Linked DNA regions of Homo sapiens: all the other regions are linked to region 3. Evidence: promoter capture Hi-C in human tissues and cell types (Jung and others, 2019). All regions are on one chromosome and are shown on one strand. The core of a region is centred on a gene start or on the middle of the fragment in contact, and the rest is flanking DNA. Distances in the headings are between cores, read along the strand shown.

What was found. The method cuts DNA at HindIII sites, captures the fragments that hold promoters and counts their contacts. A contact is called where the count stands out against the background at its distance.
Region 1: a contact is called between a fragment that was not itself captured here and the fragment with the promoter of ARFGAP3 in region 3, in 1 of the 25 tissues and cell types used here (heart right ventricle).
Region 2: the fragment with the promoter of A4GALT here is called in contact with the fragment with the promoter of ARFGAP3 in region 3 in 2 of the 25 tissues and cell types used here (lymphoblastoid cells and spleen).

Annotation. Positions count from the first base shown.
Region 1 is chr22:42,602,250-42,604,949 of GRCh38, reverse strand. POLDIP3 (DNA polymerase delta interacting protein 3) reads left to right here. Exons shown (of 9, transcript NM_032311.5): 2 at 1,790-2,180. Among named protein-coding and RNA genes, the nearest start is that of POLDIP3, 11 kb to the left of the region's middle. RefSeq lists an enhancer at 2,453-2,700. The HindIII fragment of the contact is 5,402 bases long and covers 1-2,700 here.
Region 2 is chr22:42,719,455-42,722,154 of GRCh38, reverse strand. A4GALT (alpha 1,4-galactosyltransferase (P1PK blood group)) reads left to right here and starts at 1,285. Exons shown (of 3, transcript NM_017436.7): 1 at 1,285-1,358. RefSeq lists silencers at 1,186-1,375, 1,406-1,635, 1,716-1,845. The HindIII fragment of the contact is 38,593 bases long and covers 1-2,700 here.
Region 3 is chr22:42,856,002-42,858,707 of GRCh38, reverse strand. It overlaps ARFGAP3 (ARF GTPase activating protein 3), which reads left to right and starts at 1,435. Exons shown (of 16, transcript NM_014570.5): 1 at 1,435-1,594. The coding sequence starts at 1,526. RefSeq lists a silencer at 1,160-1,909 and an enhancer at 1,432-2,276. The HindIII fragment of the contact is 10,713 bases long and covers 1-2,706 here.

The DNA of each region.
Region 1 (2,700 bases), core at 37-2,536, 250 kb after region 3:
ACTAATCCCATTTGTGAAGTCTCTGTCCTCATGACTTAATCACTTCCCAAAGGCCACCACCTTCTACCACCATCACATTGCAGATTAGGCTTCAACAGAGGAATTTTGGGGGGACACAGATGTTCAGTCTGTATTACCGCCTTAGGTTTGGTACTGGCATATTGGAGGCAGCAGGTGTTTTTCCATTATTTGAGGGATAACAAGATGAAGGTCCACGTTTGCTTTTATTGGTACCAGGTAGACTCACCTTTGGCTGCACTTCTGGTATTCATTAGCAGAGGAACTGACAGCCAATCTCACTCCAGCCACTGGAATGCAGCAGTGGGAGAGTGCCAGTGACTGACCCAGTATGAGAGATGCCTCCTGGGAGGTCCAGGCAGTGAAGTGGGAGGCAATACAGGAACTCGTTTATGCAGCAGAGTTTACCCTCTAACAGCAGGTCAGAGATCCTCAACATGGCTCTTCTCCAGAATCACCCATGGAGTTAAAAATGCAGATGGCCAGGCCTCGCCCCAGATTTTGGATTCAGCATCTAGGGTGGGATCTGGACAGCTCTGTATTTAAGAAGCTCCACAGGAGTTTCTGACACTCAGCCAGGGCTCGATGCTGCTTAGGAGGTGCTGGGCCCTGCAAAAGGACTGAACCCCATTCTCCTCCCCCCGCCCCACCCAGGGTAGGGAGAGAAAAAAGGAAACAAGCAGGTATAATAATAGGCACAGAGGAGAGTTGGCCTGGAGAAATCCGGGAGGGTTTCCCAAAGAGCACCCCTTGACATAGGAGTCCGCAGGCAGAGCGTCTGCCGCATGAGTGGCCGTTGAGGGTAGCTATTGTAGAGAGGCCTGAGGGTGGGAGGCGACAGAAGAAGCCCAAAGACCTTGGGGAGGATCTCCAGCGCTATACTCAGGAGGGCCTTCTGTTCACTTTCAAGCCACTGTAGGCCAACAGAGGAACCCAAGAAAGAGACCGGGGCCTGTTTATGGAGTTTCATTCATTTCCAGTTAAAAAAAATATTTTATTTTAAATTCAGGGGGTACATGTACATGTTTGTTCCATGGATTATATTGCATACTGGTGAGGATTAGGTTTCTAGTGTACCCATTACCCAAATAGCGAACCCTGTACCCGATCATTTCCAATTTCAGTGGTTTCTGTATTTGATATTTTTGCTATTGCAATTTTTTCTTTCTTTCCTACCAAGTCTTTGTGTTTTCTGTTTTCCTCTAGCTCTAAGCCAGACCCATATGTTTGCTCTCTTGGTCTTAGCCCAGTAGATGGTGTCTGCCTTCCTTAGAGACACTCTTTGTTAATCATTGAGCCTCTCCAAACCTGCTTCTCCCACTGTAAAGTGGGCATAGTAAGTACTTCTCAGGGTGCTGAGAGGGCTGAGTGAGAACATGGATGGGGATGGGCCTTGGAAACTAAAGTTACTCCTCAGATGAGTGGGATTAGATTTGGTGGATGTTTATTTTATTTGACTGGCATTGTTGGGAAGTTATTGTCCATGTTGGTGTCTCAAGACACGTGGTCTAGGAAGCAAAACACTCTTAACTAGGAATAAAACTTGCCAGCCCCTCTCTCTTAATTTTGCTTAAAATGCAAAGTTAAAAGCCATCATGAAACCAGGAAAGGAGTCATCATGTAGGCATAATCGTTTATTCAATCACAGGCAAGGAGCCGCTTTCTGATTCTCCAGGGCCTCCTCTGTCCCCAGTGTTACCACAGTTCCGCTTTCATAGACTGCTGTAGATACCCAGATCCACTTAATATTGATTGCAATTTATATTTACAGGCTTAATGCCAGACCGGGAGTTGGAGGTGTCCGATCTCGAGTTGGGATCCAGCAAGGCCTTCTCAGCCAGTCAACACGCACAGCCACCTTCCAGCAGAGATTTGATGCCCGGCAGAAGATTGGCCTCTCAGATGCCCGGCTCAAACTGGGAGTCAAGGATGCCCGGGAGAAGCTTTTGCAGAAAGATGCCCGATTTCGAATCAAAGGGAAAGTGCAGGATGCCAGAGAGATGTTGAACTCTCGCAAGCAGCAGACCACGGTGCCCCAGAAGCCCCGCCAGGTTGCTGATGCCCGGGAGAAGATCAGCTTGAAGAGGAGTTCCCCTGCTGCCTTCATAAACCCACCCATTGGGACAGTGACCCCTGCTCTGAAGCTCACCAAAACCATCCAGGTGAGTTGTGGCTTTTGTCATGAATTCCCAGAAAGCTAGTAACAAAGGTAGATTTAGAGGCAAGGTGCCAGGAGTGACTGGGCAAAAATACTATCCTCTCAAGTGTTGGCATAATACAGACTTTGCTCCTTACAGAGGCTTTAAGTACGTTATAGCCAAGGAACTATACAAGGAAGGAAAGGTATTATCTCAGTTCTAAAAAAAAAGAAAAAGGAGGCCCATAGAAATTTGGTGACTTTCCCAGGTGAGATACTGGTGGAAGAAAGAGAGAGGAAAGGACAAAAGATTTATTGAGCACATGCTATGTGGCAGGCCCTTAATATCTGTGACCTTACAGTCCTCACTCCACCCCCAGGCCCAGTGGGATTTGGCCCCTAGTCCAAGGCCCTGGCCACCCTTCACAGCTGCCACCACAGAGGGAAAGGAAACAATGTCATTTAACCTTCATAGCAGCTTTGGTAATAGGAACAGCAGCGGCCACAGCAAACATTTACTGAGCCAAGTCCATTAAGCCCTACAT
Region 2 (2,700 bases), core at 36-2,535, 140 kb after region 3:
ACAGAGTCTGGCTCTTGTCACCCAGGCTGGAGTGCAGTGGCATGATCTAGGCTCACTGCAACCTCCACCTCCTGGGTTCAAGTGAGCATGTCCAGCTAATTTTTGTATTTTGTAGAGATGGAGTTTCACCATGTTGGCCAGGCTGGTCTTGAACTTCTGATCTCAGGTGACCTGCTTGCTTTGGCCTCCCAAAGTGCTGGGATTACAGGCGTGAGTGCTTGCCTGGCCTCTTGTTTCCGTTTTAAGATGGGAGAAGTAACAGCCTGTGATGGGAATGACCCAGGGAGAATGGAGAGAGGGCAGGGTTTCGGGATCAGTGTTGGCGTGAAGGGTCGGGATCTTCTGGAGGGGGTGGTCGTGGCCAGGAGCTGGACGGGTTCAGCCCGGTCCCAAGAGGGAAGGGACTGGGTGCTACCTCAGCGGGTGGGTGGGGGAGCTGGTGGGAATTTTCTACTGATTCCTTCATTCGAAGTGTATTTATTGGGCACCCATTGAGTGCCAGGCTCTTTCTCAGGGCTAGGATAGAGGTTCCATTTTCTCAGTGGCTTGGGCACTGGGTCATCAGCTGAGTGAGAGGATGGGCGTCAGCACTCAAGAAGTCACCCAATGGTTTCATTTTTTGCAGTCTTTGTTGTCCCAGAGGAGTAAGAACTAAAAGCACCAGGACTGTGACATGCTGGAAACATGGCATGTTCCAAAGAGAATAAAATACAGTTTTATGATACACGAATTGTGTGTGATACATTCCAATTTCTCACATTGAACAAATTACCAATAGCAATATGTGTGAAGATGGGGCGAGGTGAGAGTGAGGAGGAGGAGTAGAGAAAGGACGGGGCGGCGTTAAGGATACAGCAAATAACTGGAATTCCGCAAACACTGGGGTGATGCAGGCAATGCCCTTAGCACGGTCCCGGCAGGAGGCGGTGGGATCAGGCCGACCCGGGTCCCAGGGGTGACAGCGTCCCTTCTCCACTGCAGAATATCGAGGTACTCAACCCTCTGAACCTCAGTTTTCTCATCAGTTCAATGGGGAAAACGGGATGGTAACCCGTAATACTGGCGGCGCGGAGGCCGGGGAGCGCTCCCTACCTGTTGGCCGGCGGACTGGGGACTGTCCGCACCCGCCCCGGGGAGCAGCGAGGGCGCGCGGGCGGGGTCGCGGGGACCCCGCAAGGGCTCTGGGGACCGGGACCCGCAGGGTAGGTCGGGACGGGCGGGGCGGGGCGGCCTGACCCCGCCCCGGGCCGGAGGGGCGGTGCTGCCTCCCGCCGGGCCCCAGGCACTGCCCTCCGGCCGCCGCGCCGCCCGCCCGCCGGGGCCCCGCTGTCCGCCGCCCGCCGCCGCTGGAGCTAGAGGTACGAGGGGCCGCGCCGATGTTGCGGGGGACGGGGGCTCCAGGGGGATCCTGCGGCTCGCAGTGGGGAGGAGGCGCCTCGGGAAGGCAGGGGCAGGGGCGGAGGGGCTGGGCCGCCGCCCTAGCCCGGGCCACCTGTTCTGGAGGCGACATTTGTGCGCGCACGAACCCCGCGCGGCGGTCCCGGCCACCGCCTCCACCCCAACTGCGCCCCGAAGTGGAGCGCGGCGGCGGGACCCGGAGCCCCGGCCCTCGCGGGCAGGACGCGCCTGGCTCCGGAGCCCTCGAGGGCAGCCCCACCCGGTTGGGTCCCGGGGCTGGAGAGAGGGCGTCGGGGAGAAGCCGGGTTCGAGGCAGGCTCTGCCCGGCCACCGTGGGTGAGTCGCGCTCCTCCGTCCGGGGGAAGCCTGGGCGTCGGGCGGTGCTCGCCCCGGAGCGGATGCGACCGGGGACGGGGATGGAGAGCGGCCGGCAGGAGGGGGCTCTGCCGGGCTGGCAGCGTCGGCGCCGGCCTTAGGGAGGGTGAGGATTTGGACCTGCCCAGAAGCGGGAAGGGCCCTCCCCGTGCGGGAAACGGCCTGGGTACGAGCTGGGCACGGGGCGAGCCGGTTGGAGTCGCCCGGCCTCCGCGCTCGCCTCGGATCCGCAGGCGCCCCTCCCTCCTCTCCAGCTGGGGAAGGTTGAGGACTGAGCGGGAGCGGAACTGGGCTTGGGAGAGGATCTGCCGGGGCACCTGGTCCCAGCGCCCATCCCGTTTCACTGCCAGGGCGAGTCCCCTTCCCTCAGTTTCATCACCTGTCATCCGGAGGGACAAGTTCCCACCTGGATAGTCTCGGCTGAGCCTCTGGCCCTGAGTGGGTTAAAGCGCCATTTCCCCTGCACCCACCTTTCCCTCACGACACCCTCTCTGCGGCTTCCTCCCCTCCGCCAACGTCGAGTGATTGTTCCGCGAAGGCCCCTTGGGGTCACGTACCCTGCACTCAGCAAATAACCCCGAGCACCTGGTGGGTCTCAGGCCAGGTCTGGCCTTCCCGTTCCCGCCACCAGCTGCCCAAAGACTTCCCCTTTGTCACCTCCTCCCAAAGAATGAGGGAGCCACCCTGCCCAGGGTCCCATAGCAGAGTGCGGATGGAGCCAGGCCTCCCTCAAGATTTCCCACAGCCCTCTTCCAGCCTCAAACCTTCTCCAGGACCCGAAACCCTGCTACACTGTGTTTCCATAGCTGCAACCCCCCAAAAGAGGGTCCCCAAATCAAAGGAATACAAAGGAAAACAAAATAGAAAGGAAAAGAAAGGAAGAGGAGAGATGGAATCCTCTCTGTCATTAGTTTTCTGTTTGTTTGT
Region 3 (2,706 bases), core at 186-2,685:
ATTTTATTTTACTTTTTGAGACAGGGTCTTGGTCTGTCGCCCATGCTGGAGTGCAGTGGTGCGATCTTGGCTCACTGCAGCCTCGACCTCCTGGACTAAAGCGATCCTCCCACCTCAGCCTCCCAAGTAGCTAGGACTACAGGCCCATGCCAGCATGCCCGGCTAATTTTTGCATTTTTTTATAGAGACGGGGTTTCACCATATTATCCAGTCTGGTCTTGAACTCCTGAGCTCAAGTGATCCTCCCGCCTCAGCCTCCCAAAGTGCTGGGATCACAGGCATGAGCCCCTGAGACTGCAAATAAACCATGCTTTAGAGAAGGTAAGTGTCTTGACCAAGGCCACAGAGCTAGGAAGCAGCTGGCTGAACTGGGATTGAGGCCAAGGTAGTGCCTTTGATGCCAAAACCTGCTGTCCTTCCTCACTATCACCCAACCTCTTTCCAGTGGCTCCACACCCATTGTGGTGACAGAGGCACCTTCTGCTGAGTGTAAACTCTTCTGGCTGGAATTGTTTCCCAGAGGGTAGGGTGCAGCCCCGAGGGCCGGGGTTAAAAGTCAAGCTTCTCATCTGGACTCATCAGTTCTGACTGAGCACTTCTGCCTCAACCCGCACTGCCATCTCTCCATGAACGTGACACAAAAGCCCTTGGTTTCAGAAAGCCAGTTTCCGGGCAAAGAAAGCTTTCCACCCAGGGCCTGGCGTGAGCTGAGGGCAAGAATTAAAAAGAGTCGGGCGCGGCGGCTCACGTCTGTAATCCCAGCAATTTGGAAGGCCGAAGTGGGTGGATCACCTGAAGTCAGGAGTTCGAGACCAGCCTGGGCAACATGGTGAAACCCTGGTCTCTACTAAAAATACAAAAATTAGCCGGGCGTGGTGATGTACGCCTGTAATCCCACCTACTCGGGAGGCTGAGGCAGGAGAATCGCTTGAACCAGGGAGGTTGCAAGGAGCCGCAATCGCGCCATTACACTCCAGCCTGGGGGACAGAGCGAGGCTCCGTCTCAAAAAAAAAAAAAAAAAAAGGGAAGGCCACCAGCTAAGGTCCGGCGTCAAGGCACGGGCCCTCCGTCCGTCTCGTGCCGAAGGAGGGCGCGTGCGCCCCTTCCCCTGCCTCTGACCTTTCCATGGAAGCAGCCCGTTAGGCGAAATGGCGATCGACCAGGCGAAACGTTGGTGGATCCTATGGCAGCGCGCGTGGCAGGCAGCCACACCCGGGCCCGGCTTCGCCCAGCGCTAAGGGCGTGGAGCCGCGCCGCAAATGGCGCGCGAGCCTCCTGCGCACGCGCGTGCAGCGCCTGGGGTCGGGCCAGCGGCGCGGCTGAAGCGAGGGCGGGGAGGGAAAGCGAGCGGCGCCTGCGCCCCGGCGGTGGACGGGCCCGGTCGTGGGCGGGGATTGGGGCGGAGCCTGACCGTTACGCGCAGCCCCGCCCCCGCGGCCTCGTCGCTCCTGCTGAGGCGGTAGCCGCTTTTCGTCGACTCTTACCGGTTGGCTGGGCCAGCTGCGCCGCGGCTCACAGCTGACGATGGGGGACCCCAGCAAGCAGGACATCTTGACCATCTTCAAGCGCCTCCGCTCGGTGCCCACTAACAAGGTAGCGGCCGCGGGCGAGTGCGGGCCTGCCTGGCATCCCTGCGGGAACCGGCGGGAGGCCCCGCGGGCGCCAGTGCCCGTGGCTTGGGAGGCGGGGCCGGCGCGGCCTGTGACACGTCGCACTGTGGGGCCGCGGCAGCCTGGCCGGGCCGGGGCGGGCGGGGCCGGGCAGCTGAGAGGCCCGGGCGGGAGGCCGCAGCGCGGGGGTCCTCACGCGAGCCGGGGAGCGTTCCCGGGGGCGGCGGCGCGGGCACACCCCCCGGCGAGCTCTTGGGGCGGGGGGCGAGCACCGGCGGCTCTGAGCGGAGGCGGGGGCGGGGGCATCCTCGGGGGCGCTGCGAGGAGGGAGCTCCCGGCTCGGAAACCCCGGCTGCTGGCGCCGGATGCGGGGAAAGCGCGGCTCCCCCAGCGCCACCCTGGAGCTCGACCCCGCCTGTTGGAGCCGGCTTGGCTCCTCGGGCCTTGCGGTGCCTGCCTCAGTTTCTCTTCTGATAAAGTTGCCGAGTAGTCTACGCTTTGGCTTCCAGCTTTTGTCGCTTTGGCCAGGGAGGCTCACCACAGCCTCCTCCCTCTCCTCGGTTCTCTTTGGAGATGGAGGTTTCCTTTTTTTTTTTGTCTCCAGAGGCTGTTCTCTCCCTGGAACTTTTACAGCTTTGCGCAGCTGGCTGGAGGCGTTGGGGTGACGCAGGGGGCTAAGGTGACACGTCGGGTCGGAGAGGGACTTGGAGAGTGCAAAGGGCTGTCGCGTCAGCGTGGGCTCTCCCCGCCCCTCCTGTGACACGAGTGTTGTCTGGTTCCCACTGTCACTTCCCGAAGGGAACAGCTGTTATTGAACCTCGATATGCTGGCATAGAAAGTTCCCGAGTGTTACAAAATAGGTGTTTCTGTTGGTTTTAAGTCTTGATGGTACAGGGGAGCCCATATTTTTTCCAGCCTAGGTGAGGAAGGAAACAGTTTATTGGAGGTGATGTCTGATGGATGTGGGAAAGTTAAGAGAAAGGCTCCAGGAATTCTCCAGTGCCCGTTTCTTTACTGTTCTCTTGATTTTCACATTTTTATTTATTTATTTTTTTAGAGACAGGGTCTCACCCCGTCACCCAGGCTGAAGTGTAG